3 separate regions of the Homo sapiens genome follow, and regions 1 and 2 are each linked to region 3. The links are contacts of gene promoters, found by promoter capture Hi-C in blood cells and fetal thymus (Javierre and others, 2016). All regions are on one chromosome and are shown on one strand. Each heading gives the region's core, a stretch centred on a gene start or on the middle of the fragment in contact. The rest is flanking DNA. Distances are from core to core; before and after follow the strand shown.

Region 1 (2,959 bases), core at 71-2,570, 45 kb after region 3:
CTTTTTGTAAAAAAATCTTCCTTGTCCCTGGGCTCTGGCCAACCCTCAGAAACCCTCACAATAAACCAGACCAGAAGGATGTCCCATCTGAATGCCCAGACCTCTCCATCTCGGCTCTTCCAGGCGTCTCCACCTACTGCCCTCCCATCTACACTTGACTGTAGACTGGTCTGGCCTGCTGGCCTGGGCGTCAGGGCGCATCAATAAAGTACTTGGACCAGTTTTGTGCTCAGGCCCTTCTCTCAACAGTGGATCACAACCACAGTTCCGTGACCAGCTACTTTCTCATTAACCCATGTTTTACGTTCTAGATTCACATGTCTGGAAGGACCTCAGTACTCATCCTGGCAATAGAATTGCTGGCGTTTGTTGGGAGCTGTGTACTAAGCTGTCACAACAATTATTCCTCCCAACACCTGGGAGAAGGGTTTCCGATTAACCCCATTTTGCTCGTTAGTAAACTGAGGCAGAGGACACCGAAGGCTCACCCAAGATCATACAGCTGCTATACGCGAAGTTGCCGGGATTCCAGCCCAGGCTTGTCAGACTCTAGTGACCAACATATCCATTGTCCACTTTAAACATGATACAAAACCCTATAGAATCTTGGCAAAACGAATTTAAAAACATAATTTCGCATCCAATTTAAAGGAGGTTGGGGCAGGAGCTCTATGAAACTCAATGCATTAATCCCCGGGATGGACCCCAGTTTAATCCAACTCACTCATTTCCCGAAGGCAGAAACAAGCCTAGAGAGGGGAGGTGAGCATGCCAGAGTCACCCAGCCAGGGAGGATTACACCCCAGGGCCCAGCCTCCTCCTGGGTCTCCCTTTGGCTGTGCGGGAGGAAGGAGGTGGTGAGGCGTCCAGCCTGGCTGGGGTCAGGGCTGGGTGTTGGGGATCAGGTCAGGAGTTTCCAGCCCGAAGGGAAGGGGTGTCACTGCTTTGAGAAGAAAACAAGACGCAAACCGTTTGGACCATCGTGTCCCTGACGCCGGACATCCCTTCCCCCAACTATCCCAGACGCCCCAGCCCCGGGGGACGCGGTGCAGAGAAAGACCGCAGCACCCGCCAGCCAGCCAGCAGCGTCCTCCAGCCGCGAATCCCCGCACCCCAGCCTTCCAACGGGGATGGATGGCACTCACTCCCACACCCCAACCCCAGCCTGGGGAAGGGAAAAGAAGGAAGGTCTTCCCCCACCCCAAGCTGTCTCCGGCCTGCGGTCAGGGGGAGGGGCTCTAGCTGTGGAAAGTTGGCAGAGGCGGCCGGCAGCAGCCGGGAGAGTGGAAAAAATGATATCAAACCCGGAAAAATGCAGGCCGGATGGAGGGCCGGAGTGGGCCCTGGGAGGTGAGAGGGCGGGAGGGAAGTGGGGAGGGGGAAGAGCTGAGAAAAGAAGAGGGGCCAGGGAGACAGTGCAGGAGCTGGCTTTAGAAAACTGAGTACAATCGCCCTCATCCCCTCCTTTCTTCATCTACAAGTATTTATTGAGGGCCTACTAAGTGCCGGGCACAGTGCCAGGCTCTGGGGAGATGTGGTGAACAGAAAGAGGGAGCTCACTGCTCGGTAGCTCACAGTAGGGTGGGCTGGGAGACTAGAAAACAAATCAGCAAATAAAAGAATCACAAACTTATAAGGAGCTGAAAATTAGAGTGGTCAGGGAAGGACCTGAAGATAATCCAGTCCAATCCTCCATCCTCAGATAGGAAAACTGAGGGCGAGAGAGAGAGAGACAGAGAGAGAGAGAGAGAGAGAGAGAGAGAGAGAGAGAGAGAGAGAGAGAGAGAGAGAGCTTACCCCAGGCTACTCAGAATGTGGAAGAAATACTTGAGAACGGGATAAGGGAGGAAAGGGGGAGGGAAGAAAGAACTGGTGCAGACCAAGATGGGAAGGTGGGAGGTGTTGAGGGAAGGAGAGTTATGCAGCTAGCACGGCAAGATGGCAGGGTGATTGAGGGCACTGCCCTGAACCAGGGGGTGTGTGTTCAAACCCCGCTCCCCTCCATCTCTCCATGCCTTAGTTTCTCCATCTATAAAACAGGATTCATGACAATTCTTTCCTTTAGGGTCGATGTGAGGATTAAATGATTCAAGTTGTGTAAAATGCTTAAGACACTTTCCGTGTCTAAGAAGATTCAATAAATGTGGGCTCCCGCTAGCATATCTTCTTTTTTTAAAAAAAAAAAAAAAACAGGGTCTCACTCTGTTGCCCAGGCTGGAATGCAGTGGCGCGATCACAGCTCGCTGCAGCCTCCACCTCCCAGGCTCAAGCCATCCTCCCACCTCAGCACCCCAAGTAGCTGGGACTACAGGCACATGCCATTATGCCCAGCTAATTTTTTTTTTTTTTAATTTTTAGAGGAGACAAAGTTTTGCTGTGTTGCCCATGATGGTCTCAAACTCCTGAGCTCAAGAGATGCTCCCACCTCAACATCCCAAGGTGCTGAGATTTCAGGCATGAGCCACTGGGTCTCACCCTGCTATCATATCTTAAGGCCTTGCAGAAACCAGGATTTGTTAAAGGTAAGATATTCTGAGACTGTGAAGACCTGCTTATGAGTCTCTGCCTGGCATATGTATTCACATGTTTTTGTCTGTCTGCCCCACAGGAATGAAAGCTCCTTGAGGGAAGGGCCCTCAGTGCTGCTCTGATCCCAGCACCTACAACAGTGCCTGGCTCATAATAGGTGCTCAGTAAATATTTGTTGAATGAATTAATTCATTATCCATTAATAGATATCCATTAATTCATTATCCATTACCTGTAAAGTGGCCCTTCCAATCCTGTCCTCTCTGATTCTAGGTGTCTGTGAATAAGGAATGGAAAGCATGTGAGAAAACCACACTCTTCCTCAGCCTATTATAGTTTAAAAAGTACTTTCTCATCCATAAAAACAAAACCAAAAAAAAAAATAGCTAACTTTGTTTTAACTGTTTCTCTGTGTTAATGTTGGGCCCCA
Region 2 (2,956 bases), core at 162-2,661, 50 kb before region 3:
TCTTCACCATCTTTGCACAACAACCGGCAGTGTCCATCCATCCAACACTCTACTTTGGGGCATATGAACAACAATTAAGCAGATGTTAGTATCCCTCAAGCGGAGAGAAAAGACAAGGCAGAGGAGGAACAGGAGGACAGGGAAGAAGAGAAGAAAGCCAGCTGAGTGAGTAATGCCAGACCCAGTCCCAGGAAAAGAGAGAAGAGACCTTGAGAGGGAAGAGAACTGAGACAATGGTTCCAACTGAGAGCTCCGAAGTTTTTGGGAGAGCCTTTTTTGGACTTCTCACCCTTCTGTCTTCCTAGCCCCCAACTTCCTACTCCTTACTTTGGAATCAACTGAAGCTAATTAATGTCCCACCTAGCAGAGCTAGGGATGAAGGGAAAAGGACATGATCACCTGTAATATTAGGGAACGAAGAGGATTCACTCACATTACACAGACCCTGTTTCTTATCAATAACCTGACCCTATTTCACATAAGCCCAACAAGCCTCAGCTCCAGCCGCATCCCAATCTGCAATCTTCCTTGACCCTATATTAACCCAATTCAAACTCAAACTCATTCAGGCCTGCCTTAATTAGAACTCCCAGCCTTACTCAACTCAATGCCCCCAAGCCCCAACTCCAAGCCAAACCCTAATCTAATCTAATCTAACCCTAATCTAATCAAGTCACTAACCTCAATTCCCAGCAGTATGCCATGACCAAGCTGAACCCAATCACCCTGCAGCATCCAGCACCGACTCCCAGCCTCAGCCCAAGCCCCAGCCTAATCCTCAACACCAGCTCCACTCAACCCCAAATCCCATCCTGTCTCCAACTCTGCCCTAAACCATCAGGGAAGCCCAGCTCCTCACCTCCAGCTCATCCTAATATTCCTTCTATCACTCCAATCCCAAGGTTTTTCCTCCACATCACAACTCACCCCAGCTTCCACTCTAGTCTCCCGAAGTCCTCAACAAGTCCCCAACCTGCACCCACGCTTTGCCCCTCAAACCTCTCCCAAGCTCCCACCAGGATACCACCCTGGCCCTCAAGCACCAGATGCTCCAAACATCTATCATCCCACCACTCTGGCAAAAAAGAATCAGAGAGAGATATTAACTTGAGATGATCCTGGGCAAACCTCCCGAAGCTGCAGGAGAGAAGGAAAGGCTTCAGATGATGCCCACAGTGAGAGGGAAGGGAAAGACGGGAAGCCCATGACCAGGAACCCAGACCCCCGAGAGAGGTTCACGTTACCTGATATCACTGGTTCTTCTATGGCCAGAAGGATGGCAAGAAACAGGTAAAGAAGTTTCATGGCTGGCAGACCTGAGAGGAGGAGGTGGCTGAGCTGCAGGGGAAGGAAATAGGGTTCCCTGCAGCACGGCAGAGATGAGCTTTGCTTTTATCAGCAGGGCTGTGGGCAGTGAATTAGAACAGGAGGGGATTTATATGAGGTCATCCAGGCCAAAGGACAGTGTGTAGCAGATGTCTCAGCAAAGCACAAGATGAGAGTGTGGGAAACTGGCCAGTACCAATGCCAGTAAAGGGACAGGTCAATTAAAGCCATTTGGCCTGTGAGACCCACAAAGGAATTAATTAATGCATAATAAATACATATCAAGAAATATTTAACTTAAAAATTACTTTGCACTTCTCTGATAAATAGTAAGAACATTTATTCAACACATGTATTTGTCTCTTTGTTTCTTCCTTTTGAATTATTTAGTCAGATATCTGGACAATTCTATTGGGGTGTTGTTGGGTACTTGCTGATTTGCAAGAGCTCTTCAGTGCTGTTATTATATTAACTGTCTTGTCATGTTTGGTGACAATATTGTTCTCCATGATTATGTTCTGTTTTAAAATATATTTTTTCCTATAAATGTTTAAAAGATATTTAAATCTTAAAAACTAAATTAAACAGGCCAGGTGTGGTGGCTCACACCTGTAATCCCAGCACTTTGGGAGGCGAAGACAGGGAGATCACAAGGTCAGGAGTTCGAGACCAGCCTGGCCAACATGGTGAAACCCCGTCTCTACTAAAAATACAAAAATTAGCCAGGTGCCTGTAATCCCAGCTACTAGGGAGGTTGAGGCAGGAGAATTGCTTGAACCTGGGAGGCAGAGGTTGCAGTGAGCTGAGATCACGCTATTGCACTCCAGCCTAGGTGACAGAGCAAAACTCCATCTCGAAAATAAAAATAAAAAAATTTTAAAAAATAAATTAAACGAGAATTACTTATTCTCAGCTTTCTAACAGAAGGATACACATGTGTCTCAGCTTTCTAACAGAAGGATACACATGTGTAATGTCTTTCAGAACTTTGAACTTGCCAATCTTGTTTCCAGTTCAGGGCCTTAGCAGTTGTCATCTGTTCTCCCTGTAAAGCTCTTTCTCCAAATCTTCCCATGAAAATCTCCTGCTCATCATTCCATATCATCCCAAATGTCACCTCCTTGGAGAGACTTTCCCTGGCCACCTTAGATAACGGTAACTCCAACCCACAGTCACTCTGGACTGTAATAACTTGGTTTATGATCTTCATATATGTATCTATTCTTTTAAATTTTATTTTACATGTTTGATTTTTGTCTCTCCACTTAGAATGTCAGAAACCTGGCTTATAACCCCAGTACCCATAACATCACCTGGTGTATTAAGATACTTATTCAACTGTTTTAACTGATATTCCCCCCAAATAAGAATGATTCCAAAAGACAGACATGGATTTCTTTTTTATGTAAAAGTCTGGGTATGCAGTTAAGTGTGACAGCTTCACCATTCAGCAGGGATCTAGGTTCCTTTTGGCTTGATGCTCTGCCATCCTCAAGAGGCTGCATCATGTGATGACCCTGAGCTGCTCCAGTTCCCACCGTCAAGTTCCCATCCAGCCATCAGGAAAGGAGGAGTGATGGAAGTGAAATGCAACACCTTTCCCTTTAAGGACACCACTCAGAAGTTTCAC
Region 3 (2,845 bases), core at 267-2,766:
TCTGCCCCAAATCCTTAATTGAAGAGATTGAGACCCAGAAAAAAAAAAAAAGTAATTCTTCCAAGGTCACATAGAAAGCTAGTAGCAGTGTCAGGACTAGTTACCCAATATTTTCAACTCTGCTGTCACTCTCAATACAAAAATCCTCCATATATCCTGGCATTTCAGGCAGTGGGAAAATCTCTTCTTTTAGGGAGAAAAGAATCCAACAGATACATTATTTCTCCAGGCCTGGGCAACAGAGCAAGACCCTGTATCCAAAACAACAACAAAAACAAAAAGATAAAAAATAGTTTTTAAAATTAAGAAAAAAAAAGAAATGAAATGAGCCTCCTTACCAAAAATGAACAGCACAGGAAAGGTGGACTTCCAGGCTTTCCACTGAGTCCCTTCCTAGCCAGTGTCTCTTCTTCTCTTCATTGTAAGGGTTTTAGAAAGAATTATTTACACTTGCTGACCTCACTGTTTCACTTACCTTTCAGTTTTCAACCCCATTGACTGTTTTCTGCCCCTACAGAAATGGCTTTCACTGTTGTTGTTGTTGTTGTTGTTTTTCCCTTGTAATCCCTCTGTATGCTATTATACCCTTGACATCTGTTTCAAGCAGGGTCCAGTCAGAGAAACAGTAACTACAGGATGCAGCTACCACCCGAGGGCTGAGGGAACTAAAGGAAAGAGATGCCTTTTCTTTTCTTTTCTGAGACAGAGTCTTGCTCTGTCGCCCAGTCGGGAGTGCAGTGGCGCGATCTCGGCTCACCACAGCCTCCCCAGGTTCAAGCGATTATCTTGCCTCAGCCTCCCAAGTAGCTGGGATTATAGGCATGCACCACCACACCTGGCTACTTTTTGTATTTGTAGTAGAGATGGGGTTTCACCATGTTGGCCAGGCTGGTCTCGAACTCCTGACCTCAAGTGATCCACCCACCTTGGCCTCCCAAACTGCTGGGATTACAGGCGTGAGCCACCGTGCCCGGCCAAGAATGAGTTTTCAAAACCCGAGTTCAGAAGAAGGATTCTGAGTGGTTGGTTCTCAGATCTCTGAGGAAGCGGAAGGATGACCCTAGGGGGAGGGCCACCGCATGTTAGAACCCAGCAGGGGGCTGTGACAGACAGGCTGGTGCTCGGAGCTTCATCTCTTTCTGCCGTTTTCCTCTCAGTTTTTGCTCTGGTTATGTCATATTTCTCATTTTCAACACCAACATGAGCCTTTGTACAGACATTCCTCCACCTGGAACCCCATTTCAGCTCATCTACCTGTTGCTTTGTATTTATTCTTCAAAACTCTGCCGTCTTCCCTGACCTTCCGGAGCCGGTGTTTGTGGCGCCTCCTGCTGGTCACTGGGTTCAGGCAGTTTGGAGCTGGGTGGAAGGAACGGGTAGTATATTAAGTCTTGGGCCCTGGACCTTGTTGGCTGTCCTCTCCCTGCTGACCTAAATGACAAAGGGAGGGGTGTCCAGTCAGAGTGTGAGGGCTGTACCCGTGGGCAGCTGAGGGAGTGCGAGCCACAGGCCAGGCACTCTCCTTCTCCCATTAGCTCAGCCGTGGCATCGGACTTGCAGCTTCATTTTGGGCTGCCTTAGCCATGAAGCTCCTTTTGCTGACTTTGACTGTGCTGCTGCTCTTATCCCAGCTGACTCCAGGTAACCTGAACCTCCTTAAGGAAGGGGCAGGGCTTAGAGACTAAGGCCTGGTCAGAGAATCCCAAGGGCTAGAAGGATGGGCTGCAGGTTGTCATCTAGCACCACGTATAGGAGGCAGGAGGCGCCTCACCAGCAGCAGGTGCCAGCTGATAGATGACAACTACAACATCCAGAGCTGCTCTCTCAGCGGCTCCATCCCTCCTCTTCCTGCCCAGCTCCAGGGAGCATGTGGGGGTGGCCTAGTGTGTGAGGAGGAGTGGGAGGGGTGAGCAAGAGAAGCAGGAAAGAGGAGAGGCAGGTATGGCCCTTTTGCAAAATAGTCCCCAGAATGAACGAAGCTTTGTGAAGATCACAGCTACCTTAATGGGAGAGAAAGCTCATTTGTACTTAGCTGTCTCTGTGCCAGACTCTGCGCTGGAAGCTAGGACCACGGAGATAAATGACATGGTGCCAGGGGAACTAACTGGAGGAGACAGTTAAATAGCATTTATAACCCAGGGTGACACGGCTGTGGCAGTGGGAAACCAGGGGGCTGGGTACACATGGTCCAGCCCAGGCTGAGGGAAAGGAGAGTCCTCCTGGAGGGATATCCTGAGTCCTAAAAAGTGAGTCGAAAATAGAAAAGGAAGGAGAGGGGAAAGCAGAAGGGTGTCCCAGGCAGAGAGGTCAGCCTATGCAAAGGTTGGATGCGGGAGAGAGCATGGGAGTGTCGGGGACCTGCATAACATGGAGGGGTGGGTTAGGAGAGAGGCGGGGGTAAAGCTGAGGAAGCATTCAAGCTCCAGGTCTCAGTGGGCCTCAAATGCCAGGTGAGGGACCCATGGGAAGGTTTAAACAGAGAAAGACCCTGGTCAGACCTACCACCCACCAATTCCAGCATGAGCCACCTATCCCTTCCTGCTCATCTGGCAGAAGTTTCCACCCACCCTAAGGCTGTCGGCTAACCTTTCTACAGAGTCAGAAACGTGTGAATTTCCTAAACAAGCTGACCTCCGTCCTTGTGTCTTCCTGAGGCCCTAAAACACCACTCACCTGGAGTAGGGAGGAAAGCCCAGACCCCGGGTTAAAACCTGCCCCATCATTTTCTGACTCTGTGAGCCCCAACAAGAAGCTCAGCTGCTCAGAGTATCAATTTCCTCATTTCTCAAACTGCAATAACATCAAGTGTGTAATAATATCAGGTTGAGGGAACAACATTGAACAC

The links. The method cuts DNA at HindIII sites, captures the fragments that hold promoters and counts their contacts. A CHiCAGO score of 5 or more calls a contact.
Region 1: a fragment that was not itself captured here is called in contact with the fragment with the promoter of DEFB123 in region 3 in 1 of 17 cell types (M1 macrophages); the score reaches 5.7 in M1 macrophages.
Region 2: the fragment with the promoter of DEFB119 here is called in contact with the fragment with the promoter of DEFB123 in region 3 in 2 of 17 cell types (M1 macrophages and naive CD8 T cells); the score reaches 6.3 in M1 macrophages.

The regions. Positions count from the first base shown.
Region 1 is chr20:31,484,674-31,487,632 of GRCh38, forward strand. REM1 (RRAD and GEM like GTPase 1) reads left to right here. Exons shown (of 5, transcript NM_014012.6): 5 at 1-222. It overlaps LINC00028 (long intergenic non-protein coding RNA 28), which reads left to right and starts at 1,105. Exons shown (of 4, transcript NR_024358.1): 1 at 1,105-1,350; 2 at 2,359-2,522; 3 at 2,609-2,686; 4 at 2,803-2,901. The HindIII fragment of the contact is 5,037 bases long and covers 1-2,959 here.
Region 2 is chr20:31,389,179-31,392,134 of GRCh38, forward strand. It overlaps DEFB119 (defensin beta 119), which reads right to left and starts at 1,412. Exons shown (of 2, transcript NM_153289.4): 1 at 1,245-1,412. The coding sequence starts at 1,305. The HindIII fragment of the contact is 16,203 bases long and covers 1-2,956 here.
Region 3 is chr20:31,439,116-31,441,960 of GRCh38, forward strand. DEFB123 (defensin beta 123) reads left to right here and starts at 1,517. Exons shown (of 2, transcript NM_153324.4): 1 at 1,517-1,641. The coding sequence starts at 1,584. The HindIII fragment of the contact is 4,618 bases long and covers 1-1,977 here.